Regions from separate parts of the Homo sapiens genome. Here region 1 is linked to region 2. The links are contacts of gene promoters, found by promoter capture Hi-C in blood cells and fetal thymus (Javierre and others, 2016). All regions are on one chromosome and are shown on one strand. Each heading gives the region's core, a stretch centred on a gene start or on the middle of the fragment in contact. The rest is flanking DNA. Distances are from core to core; before and after follow the strand shown. Region 1 holds the start of EIF2S1 (eukaryotic translation initiation factor 2 subunit alpha). Region 2 holds the start of MED6 (mediator complex subunit 6).

Evidence for each region. Contacts are between HindIII fragments. The CHiCAGO score rates a contact against its expected background, and 5 or more counts as called.
Region 1: a contact is called between a fragment that was not itself captured here and the fragment with the promoter of MED6 in region 2, in 1 of 17 cell types (fetal thymus). The highest score is 6.8, in fetal thymus.

Annotation. Positions count from the first base shown.
Region 1 is chr14:67,360,088-67,364,602 of GRCh38, forward strand. It overlaps EIF2S1 (eukaryotic translation initiation factor 2 subunit alpha), which reads left to right and starts at 241. Exons shown (of 8, transcript NM_004094.5): 1 at 241-369. It also overlaps a transcript of GPHN not described here. RefSeq lists an enhancer at 1-496. The HindIII fragment of the contact is 1,601 bases long and covers 1,366-2,966 here.
Region 2 is chr14:70,598,598-70,603,370 of GRCh38, forward strand. MED6 (mediator complex subunit 6) reads right to left here and starts at 2,058. Exons shown (of 8, transcript NM_005466.4): 1 at 2,019-2,058. The coding sequence starts at 2,040. RefSeq lists an enhancer at 1,560-2,759. The HindIII fragment of the contact is 992 bases long and covers 1,913-2,904 here.

The DNA of each region.
Region 1 (4,515 bases), core at 916-3,415, 3.2 Mb before region 2:
TCTCATGGTTAGCTGAAACTTTGAAAGAGGATTCATTCTTCAGAGGCAAGGAATCGGAGTCCTATGTCTTTCTCGCGCCTTGAAGGTTACTTAGCTAAAGCTAAGATAGCGAGAAACAGTACTTTTCAGGTCCTTCCATGATCTACATTCGTCCTTGTTCTCGGAGGACCCAGACTCTATGGTTAATGATGAAGAGGGGCCTCTATTCGTTCAGCGCTTGCGCATGCGAGGAGGTTCCGCATGCGCGGTGGAGTGAGCGAAGCGCACGCTGAGGAGGATCGGCGGCCGGTGAGGGGGAAGCAAGTCTGGTCTCTGTGATTGAAGAAGTCGGCTCTGGGCTCCAGTGCGGGAATCACACACATACCTCAGGTGACTAATCCCAAGCTCGGTTTCTCCAGGAACTCACTTTGGTTTGTGTCCAGTGACATGGGTGTTCGAGAGCGGGTAGGCCCCGGGCTAATACCTCCCTTTCCCGTCCCTGCGCGGGAAGTGGCTGGACAGCACCGCCACCACCCGCGCTGTCGTGGGCCTCCTCGCCGGCTCCGTGTAGGTCATCCTGTGTTCCAGAGGCATCGTTGTTCGAGCAGAGGAATCTCGTGAAGGAAAGTGGGCCGAGTGGATTGTACAGCCTCTACAATATGCCGAAAGTGAGAATGCCATGACGATGGGGCGGTCTCAGGAGAACGCTGTGACACCGTAACTCTTAACCCCGGCTCAGGACGCTGAGCACTTTGCTTTTTCCAGGCTTGAGAATTCCATCTTTTCTTCCGCCCCAACAGCTCTACCAAAAATTTCCCCTGCGTCTCAGTGGAAACCAAACTGGCCTCTTACCTGAGAAACCTGTGGGACGGGCACCGTGTTGGAAAGAGCGGGGTCCGAGTAGTTTTTCATCTGATAATTGAATGAGTCACCCCTTGAACCAAAACTAAATGAGACTTGAGTTTATTACTGTTACTATCAGTTTGTCGTATTTTGGCGACAATGAGAATAGAACTGTGTTAAGCATATGTTAGGTTAACTATGTTAGTTAAGCATAACTAAAACCTAAGATAAGGATATATTTTCGGGTTAAATACACAGTCATGCTGAGGTCTCTTTATCCTCAAAACTTAGGCTTTTTAAATTTTTATTAAGCAAAAAACATGGTTTCTTCGAGAAAAAGTATAGCAGAGAAGTCTTTATTTCCCCTCAATTGAGTTGTTATTCAAGGAACAATCTCTGTCAATAGTTTGGGGGTGACTTGTACAGAACTTTGCTACCTATTCTTAGTTCATCTGGTGCCAAAAGATGTAGTTGTCTCATGCACAGTAATGTTTGTAGAGATTCGGTGATAACTTTCTTTTTCAACTATAATGATGAAATAAAAGCTTTACTTATGTAGCACTCCTATACCAAGAACTAGCATTCAGAGAGCATTCCTAATACGTGTTAGATCCAAATTAGAATTATCACGAGAGTTGTCCCCATCACATAATATATTTTGGAAAGGAATGTGAACTTCTATATCCATTATAGCAGTTTGACCATGCACTGTTTTGAGAAAGAAGTCCTACCTACCATTTGTCATGCAAAATAACTGACTATGCAGGGTATTTGAAATTAGCCTGGAGTTTGGTTGATATATTTTGAAAGGTGGCTGATACTTTTTACATCAGAACACATAAGAGTATTATAGCATGTTGTGATATTGAGGTTCTGTGGGTTAAAGACATTCTGGATTTGATGTCGGATTACTTGAGTTTAGCTCCTACGCTAGTACTTATTAAGCATTTGTTCTTAAGGAAGTATTATAATTTAGTATTTCTGTTCCACCTTTCCTGTTCATTGCTTCACTGTGCCCTTTCATAGTACTTTGTATTGTAATTATTTGCTTGCTAGTTTGTTTCCCACTCTATACTTAATTACTTAGGTAAGAGTCTTTTTTTTTTTTCTTTTTTCTTTTTTCTTTTTTTTTTTGAGACAGAGTCTCTGTTGCCCAGGCTGGAGTGTAGTGGCACGATCTCAGCTCACTGTAGCCTCTGCCCCTGGGTTCAAGGGATTCTCCTGCCTCAGCCACTATAGTAGTGGGATTACAGGTGCCTGCCACCACACCCAGCTAATTTTGGTATTTTTAGTAGAAATGGGGTTTCACCATGTTGACCAGGCTGGCCTCGAACTCCTGGTTTCAAGTGATCCACCCGCCTCGGCCTCCCAAAGTGCTGGGATTACAGGTGTGAGCCACTGCGCCTGGCCTGGTAAGAGTCTTTCTTGTTGTATCATTAGTGCTTAGTACATAGTAGCTACTGAAAAAAAAATTAACAAATTATTATATTACAAAATGGAAATACCTTCTTTTTCTTTCAATATTTTATGTTTGACTAGCACATAATGGTTTTCAAAATGTTTTTACGTATACATGTGATACCCTCAGTAAACCTGTGATGTACATGGCACAGATGAGAAACTACAGTTCAAAGGATGTTATCTTTCCCAAGCAGCCACTTCTAGTAAGTAGCAGAGCAAGGACTGGAACACAAGGCTAGAGTTGTTCCCCGAGTTTACTATGTTAATTGCCTGATTTGACACTTCTTGAGGACCAAATAAAATAAGAATGCTGTGAAAAAGATAAAGAGGTGAAGTCACCTAGTGTGACTTCGATATTGCGGAATGATTTTTTTAAGTTAAAAAAAAAATTTAAGTTATTAGCATTTCATTAGGCAATATGTTCAAAAATTGTCAACCAATATGCAGGTTTTTGTGGTATGGATTCTTTTTGTACTTAACTACTATCTATCTTTACTATGAATAACATACCATCAACAGTATTCCTTTACTTACCCTTTATGTTGCAAAGAGACTTGTGCCTCCTGAAGAAATAGTATTCATAGTCATATCCCTTCAGGATTCTCTTACATGATTGCCCATGTTTTTTAACCATCAAATTAAGCCTTGCTTCCCCTAAAAGCATCACCTTTACTGTTTGGAGAAGCTTGGTAAGTAAATGTGGTTTTCACTGGTCAAATGTCTTGCAACTGTTCCATACATTTCTGTAACATAGTTTATTTTTATGCCCAATTTGAAACTTTTTAGCTCTCAAATTTGAGAGCTTTACATACACATATTCAACAACAGTTTCCCCACCCCCACCCTCGAAAAGCCCTGTTTAAAAACGAAACAAACAGTCAGCTGTTTCTTGGTGGGTAAGGCCATTGAATGTCTACTTCTCTTTATTTGCTAAATCCCTATTTTGTAGGGATTTTGTATTCCCTACAAAGAAATACATCTCTGCTACTGTCATTAATATGCTGCTCTTTGTTGTCAAACAGATGAGTACTAATAGTTTGCACTTATTGGTGTTATGTACTCTGGCACTGAATATATATTAATGTTGCTTTTTAAGTAAAATGTTTCTAATTATAATATATTTATGAATAGTTTTGAGAGAATATAGTCTTACTGATAAGAGGACAGACTCTGGATCCAGACTTCATGGATTCAAATCCTGACTCATCACCTGTTAGCAGTATGTGAAAGAACAAGTAACTTAACCTGTGCTTCAGTTTTTTAATCTATAAAATGGGGAGAACTAGGGAGAAAGTTGTACCACAAGGAGATAGGCAATGGCCAGATCATATAGGATTCTGTAGGTAGTGGAAAGATACATAAGTCAGTGGGAAGCCACTGAGAAGATATAGGCAGGTGCCAATTAATAAGTTATTATATGAATTTTCACAAGGTTTTCTTAGGCCTTTAAGTTCTGTTACTACCTACGTTTTGAGCAGTGACAACAGTGAAGGTTAACAGAAAAACATGAAAATCATCAGCCATGATTAGTTTGAGAGCTTCCTTTTTTAAATATGCTTCTACCCAGGCTATGATTTCAGGCTTGTGGATCATAAAAGGAGTAGTGCTGAAAGTAGGTTGGGTGGATCAAAGGGAATAATTGTAAATATCTTTAATGCTTGGAGGTTAAGAGAAACTTGAACTTTGTAGTAATGGAGATTAAAGCTATTCTCAAGATTAGGTATACCTATTCAATAAAAGAAAGGAATATTTGGGAGTATTGGGGATAAGAGAAGCTAGACATTGTGAATTCAAGGAAAAAGAATTATGAGAGGAGGATGCATTTTAGTTTATTTTGTGATTAAAATTTTTTTAGTTTTTGTTGTTTTGACATGTGACACTGTAATTTTGGCTATAATAAATGACAGAATGTATCATTTGGTATATTGGTTAGGGTTTAGGTAGAAAATTTTTTCCTTTATATAGTGAGTGGTAGCGTATACAATGTTTGCTCACTTCGGCAAAGAGTAGCTTTAGTTTTCTGATTAGTTATAATAGTGATGCTTCCCATCATTTGATATGCCTTAAAGTAGTATTTTACTCTTGAGGTATTCCTTTAATCCTTAGGTCTTGGAGTACTTTATAGATGGTCATTATTTTTTATGATTCCTCTGAAACTAAAGGCAGAGAATCACCCAAGCATTACAAAAATGTTGAGCAAAATAAAAATTAAAGCTTGGTTCCTGAACATTA
Region 2 (4,773 bases), core at 808-3,307:
ACACAGAGAAAAGGGCAAAGTAATTCCAAGCAGAGAGAATGTATATACAGAGGTGTAAAAATATAAAGTATATTATATCTTTAGAGAATAATTTCATTAGGTGAAGAAGTGATAAGATTTAAAATTTAGAAAGGACTTTTTTTTTTATTGGAAATCCTTAATGCTGGCAAGGAATTCAAAATTTTCAAATAACATGTATGCCCAAGAGAACACATCTATAGCTACCAGTTTGAGATCTCTCAATTAGGGATAGAGAAGTTAGGAAGCTATTATTGTAGATGAGATGATAATGATGTAAAAGCTAAGGGATAAACAGGAAGTAGAGTTCCCTTAACTACAGCCACACGGTTTCATATTTAGCGTAGAATTAAATCATAGCTTTTAAAAAGACATGATAGAGCTAGATACTTTTAATAAATGAGCTTGTATTGGCTATTGGCTTTCATGATGCTTCATACCACTGACTGTACTGAACACCACTAGGTGTAAATCATGAACATCAAAATGCCTATACAATACTGGTTGAAAAACTTCAATCTCTCTTATACTGTCATTACCTCAGGCATCTTCAAAGAAGTCAGACCTAATTCAAGGTGACAGGCAGTTTTGAGCCAAGTGACTCAACCGAGAAAAATTATATAAAGGTAAAATGTACTTTGTGTGCTATAAAATAAAGGAGGAGACAGATGAAGTGCGTTAATAACCAAATAATTAGTATAGACCATTTAGATAGTTCATCATAACTGGATCATGCAATAACCAAATACACAACAGGCCAGGAAATAACATTTTCAGAAATGGCCTCCTAACTGGTTTTCCTAATTCTACCCTTGCCCTCCTACACTGTTCCCAGCAGCCAATGTAGTCCTAAAAAAAAGTCAGATCACATCATTCCTCTGATGGAAACCCCTCCAATGGCTCTGCGTTTTACTCAGAGGAAAAGCCAAAGACCTTATCATAGCTTTCAACACCTTTCTGACTTCATCTCCTTCCCACATCCTCTCTCACTACCCTCCAGCCACACTGACCTCCTTGCTGTTCCTTTAACACACCAAACACACTCTTATTTTAGAGTCTTTGCCATGATCCTAACAATCTGAATTATAAGTAAAACATTTTATAAACTAAATATTTCTCTTTTTTATTCTGTAGCAAGGCAACATGTTGACATAGCCCAAGCATTCTAACAGCATTCTAACCATCAGCAAGTGATGAAATAAATAATGAAAGACACGTATGTAAAATCATGATCCAGAAGTGCTGCAGATCGCCAGATAAGTATAAATGAGAATATTTGTAATAAATGTGTTAGACCCCAATCCAGTTAATATTAAAAAAAGGCATCTCAAACATCTCCCTTTAAAAATCAAGTACTATATACACAAAAACAACTCTACATGCTCCCCAAGATCAAGCAGCAGTTAAGGGGTGACATCTCCATACATTTATTCACTGACTGATTCAATATTTGAGTACTTCTGCAGTTCAGCTGTGAAAAAAATACGACCCCTGCCCATAATAATTGCTGGACGTTCGATGTAAAGTATTATCGACTCAAAAAAAAAGAAAATATCTGGGATTCATGCTCAGGGACCCGTGTGGCGCGGTCTAAAGAATTAGGCAGCCACCATGCCAAGTCCCAAGAGATGAATCAAATCAAGTTGGCTTATTACCCCATTCCCTTCTCTGCCTAAACGCCATTCCTTCACTCCAATAGAATAGCCCTAATGTTGTTGCAGAGATACGTGTGTAGAACAAAACTCCAGCTCTGAAAGCTCAAAACCCAGAGCTTCTTCCAACCCCTTCTCTCCGACGCTTCCAAGAGACGCTCCAAGAACTCAGAAAAAAAAAAAAACTCGTCAACGTTTCGCTAGATCACAGCCTTGGGTTGTCCACAAAAACCACTCAAAAAAGCTTGAGACTTCACACAAAGGAACCTAAACCTTGAAACCGCGAGCTATAACATCCCAAACTGGTCCACAGACAATCAAGAGACAAAATATAGCAATACAGTATACCTCGGATATCCACCGCCGCCATAATTCCGAGAGCGTTTACAGGTTCTCTTTCCGGCGCAAAGTAAACGTAAGCCTAGGCCGCCGGAAGCAGCGGGTTGAAGAGAGTGCGCATGGGTGAGGAGGGACGTAGAGCGGAAGAGGGGGCGGGGCGGGCAGGAGAGAGGCAGGGGGTGGAGGTGCGGGTGGGAGGGGAGGAGACGCGAGGGGGCGGAAAGCGGGAGAGGCGCGGGAGGCGGGAAACGTGGGGTGGGGTGGGGTGGGGTGGGGTAGGGGAATGGGAGGGGACGGGACGCAGAAAGATTGGTGCAGGGGAGCAGGGAAAGACTAGAAGAGGGATGGGCCAAAGAAGGAGAACGGGAGGGCGGATTACTGGGAAAAAAATTAGAAGACTTAGAGGACAGAAAGACCGAGTGGAGTCCCGCCCCACGCCCACCACTGATGGAAGAATTCTGCCTTGATCGTCTGTGATCGTCAAGAAAACAAATTCTGATGCTGTAGAGTTGTGCTTGGGAGTGTCTCTTAATTTTAAAAGCTCCCCGGGTGTATCCACTGAGCTATCAGATTTAGGAACGATGGTCATTTATATTTTTCTCCCTGCCTCAGGTATTGGGATGGGACAGGACTTAAGAATTTGGGAGTCATTGGCTTTTATGTGACTAAATCCATTAAAAATCTAAACCAATTAAAGAAGCCTCTGAGAAAAATTTCACAACACAGGAAATGCTTCTGAAGTGAAATATTAATAAGATTAAGAGAAAGGGAATACCCCTGGGTCCCAGAGTAATGAGCAAATGTCTGCATTCCAAGTAGTCTGGAGTAGGTAGCAAGGCTCCAAAGAGGGAATGATTCTGTGTACGGGGAAGCTACAGAAAGCCTCAGATTCTCAAGCTTCAGTGTGGCTCTGTAAAAGCAAAACGATACAGAAATATGCAAACAACACACAGATACTAGGAAGAGGATGCCAAAATCTGAAGGAGGGATGAGGGCGGGTGCCTACATCTTCTCCAAAACTTAGGTACTGTGAAGACTCCCCAAGAATTTAACCACAACCCAGGAGCAAGAGGGGAAGACCAGAAATTTAATTGGGATTTTCAACCTCATAGACAAGGAATTAAAAATTTGTTAACTCCGTAGAATAAAAGTACGTTGCCTGTACATTTCAGTTTGGGAATTTTCTGCCTGAGATGGTATGTATAAAATAGGTGTCCCAACAGAAGTATGTGCATGCACAGAGTAAAGTTTTGAGAGAGAATTTTTCAGGAGGGCCTGGTTGGGAGCCTAGTGGGAGGACATTGCAAAAAGGAAGAGTATCGTGTCCAATAAAAAGTGTGATCCATAAAGCTTTTTGTTTTGTTTTTCTAGTTTTTTGTTTCCTTGTGTTTTGATTAGGCTAGAAGGAGATTAGGAAGAATAGTGACAGAATGCAGATCTGTAGATAATAAAACATATGGTATGCATGGTAAATAAGACCTGGAAGCTCAACCTTTATTTTGTAGGCAATGGGAGAAATGTGATCAAGCTTCCATTTTAGAAAGATAACTTGAGGAAGACAGGGCAAGGTGGCTCACGCCTGTAATCCCAGCACTTTGGGAGGCCAAGATGGGAGGATTGCTTGAGCCCAGGAGCTGGAGACCAGCCTGGTCAAGATAGCGAGATCCCATCTCTATTTCTTTTATATTAATTGTTTCAGTTAATAAAGAAATATAAATTAAAAAGTGTGGTAACAAAAACAAGAGAAGACAAGATAGGGAGGAAGCCACTTTGGGTAGGACAGTCAGGACAGGCCTCTCTGAGGAAGTGATACCTGAGATGAGACCTGGAAGATGAAAGCAAATCACTCATGTGAAGAGCTGGGGCACAAGCATATCAGACAGAGGGGACCATGGACCCTACAGTGGGAAAGGGGTTGGTCTGAGAACCACAGAAAGGCCAGTGTAAGCCGGGTTGTATGAGTGAAGGATGAATGATGGGAAAAGAGACTGGGAATGAAGGCAGGGGCCAGATGATAGAGAGCCTGGTCAATAATTTATTTTTTATTCAAAGAACATAGGAAGCTATTAAAAGATTTGAATGAGTAGAATGCCACAAAGGTTCTGACTGGAAATTTGTTTATGGATGTCAAAAGTATTTGTTGTGCTTATTGAGCCACTTACTATGGACGAGGCACTGTGCTAAGCACTTTGACGAACTATCTAGTTGTTCCCTCAAAACAATTTTATGAGGCAGAAGCTATTACTCCCATTTTTAAATGAGGAGACGGACTGAGGCAGATGAGCTAGCTTTTCACCAAACTTATTATCTACTTGGGTATACAGCTAAGCTATATTTTCCACCACCCTTGCACCTGGATGGAGCTACATAGCCAGTTCTCATCAAGGGACTGTGAATGGAAGTGATAAGTGTTACCTCCAGGCCAAGACAGTGAAAAACACTGGTTCCATCTTCACTTTCTCTCTCTGTATTCACCAGCTAGATGCCAGAGAAACCTAAGGTCATGGATTGAAAGTGGTGGTGATGGGGAGTTGGGGGGCTGGGGTCTCTGAATGACTGACCACAGGTGCTGAGCCACCTTGCTGACCTAAACTGGATCCAAAGCAAGAAATAAGATTTTATTATGTTAAAAATACACACATGCACACAAAATTGCTATGTACTGTCTCCTCCATAAAATCAGTAATACTGGTGTAATCTATTTTCTGTAGGATATATTAAAATGTGTACCTGCCTCCACTATATACAGTATGACCTTTTGAGG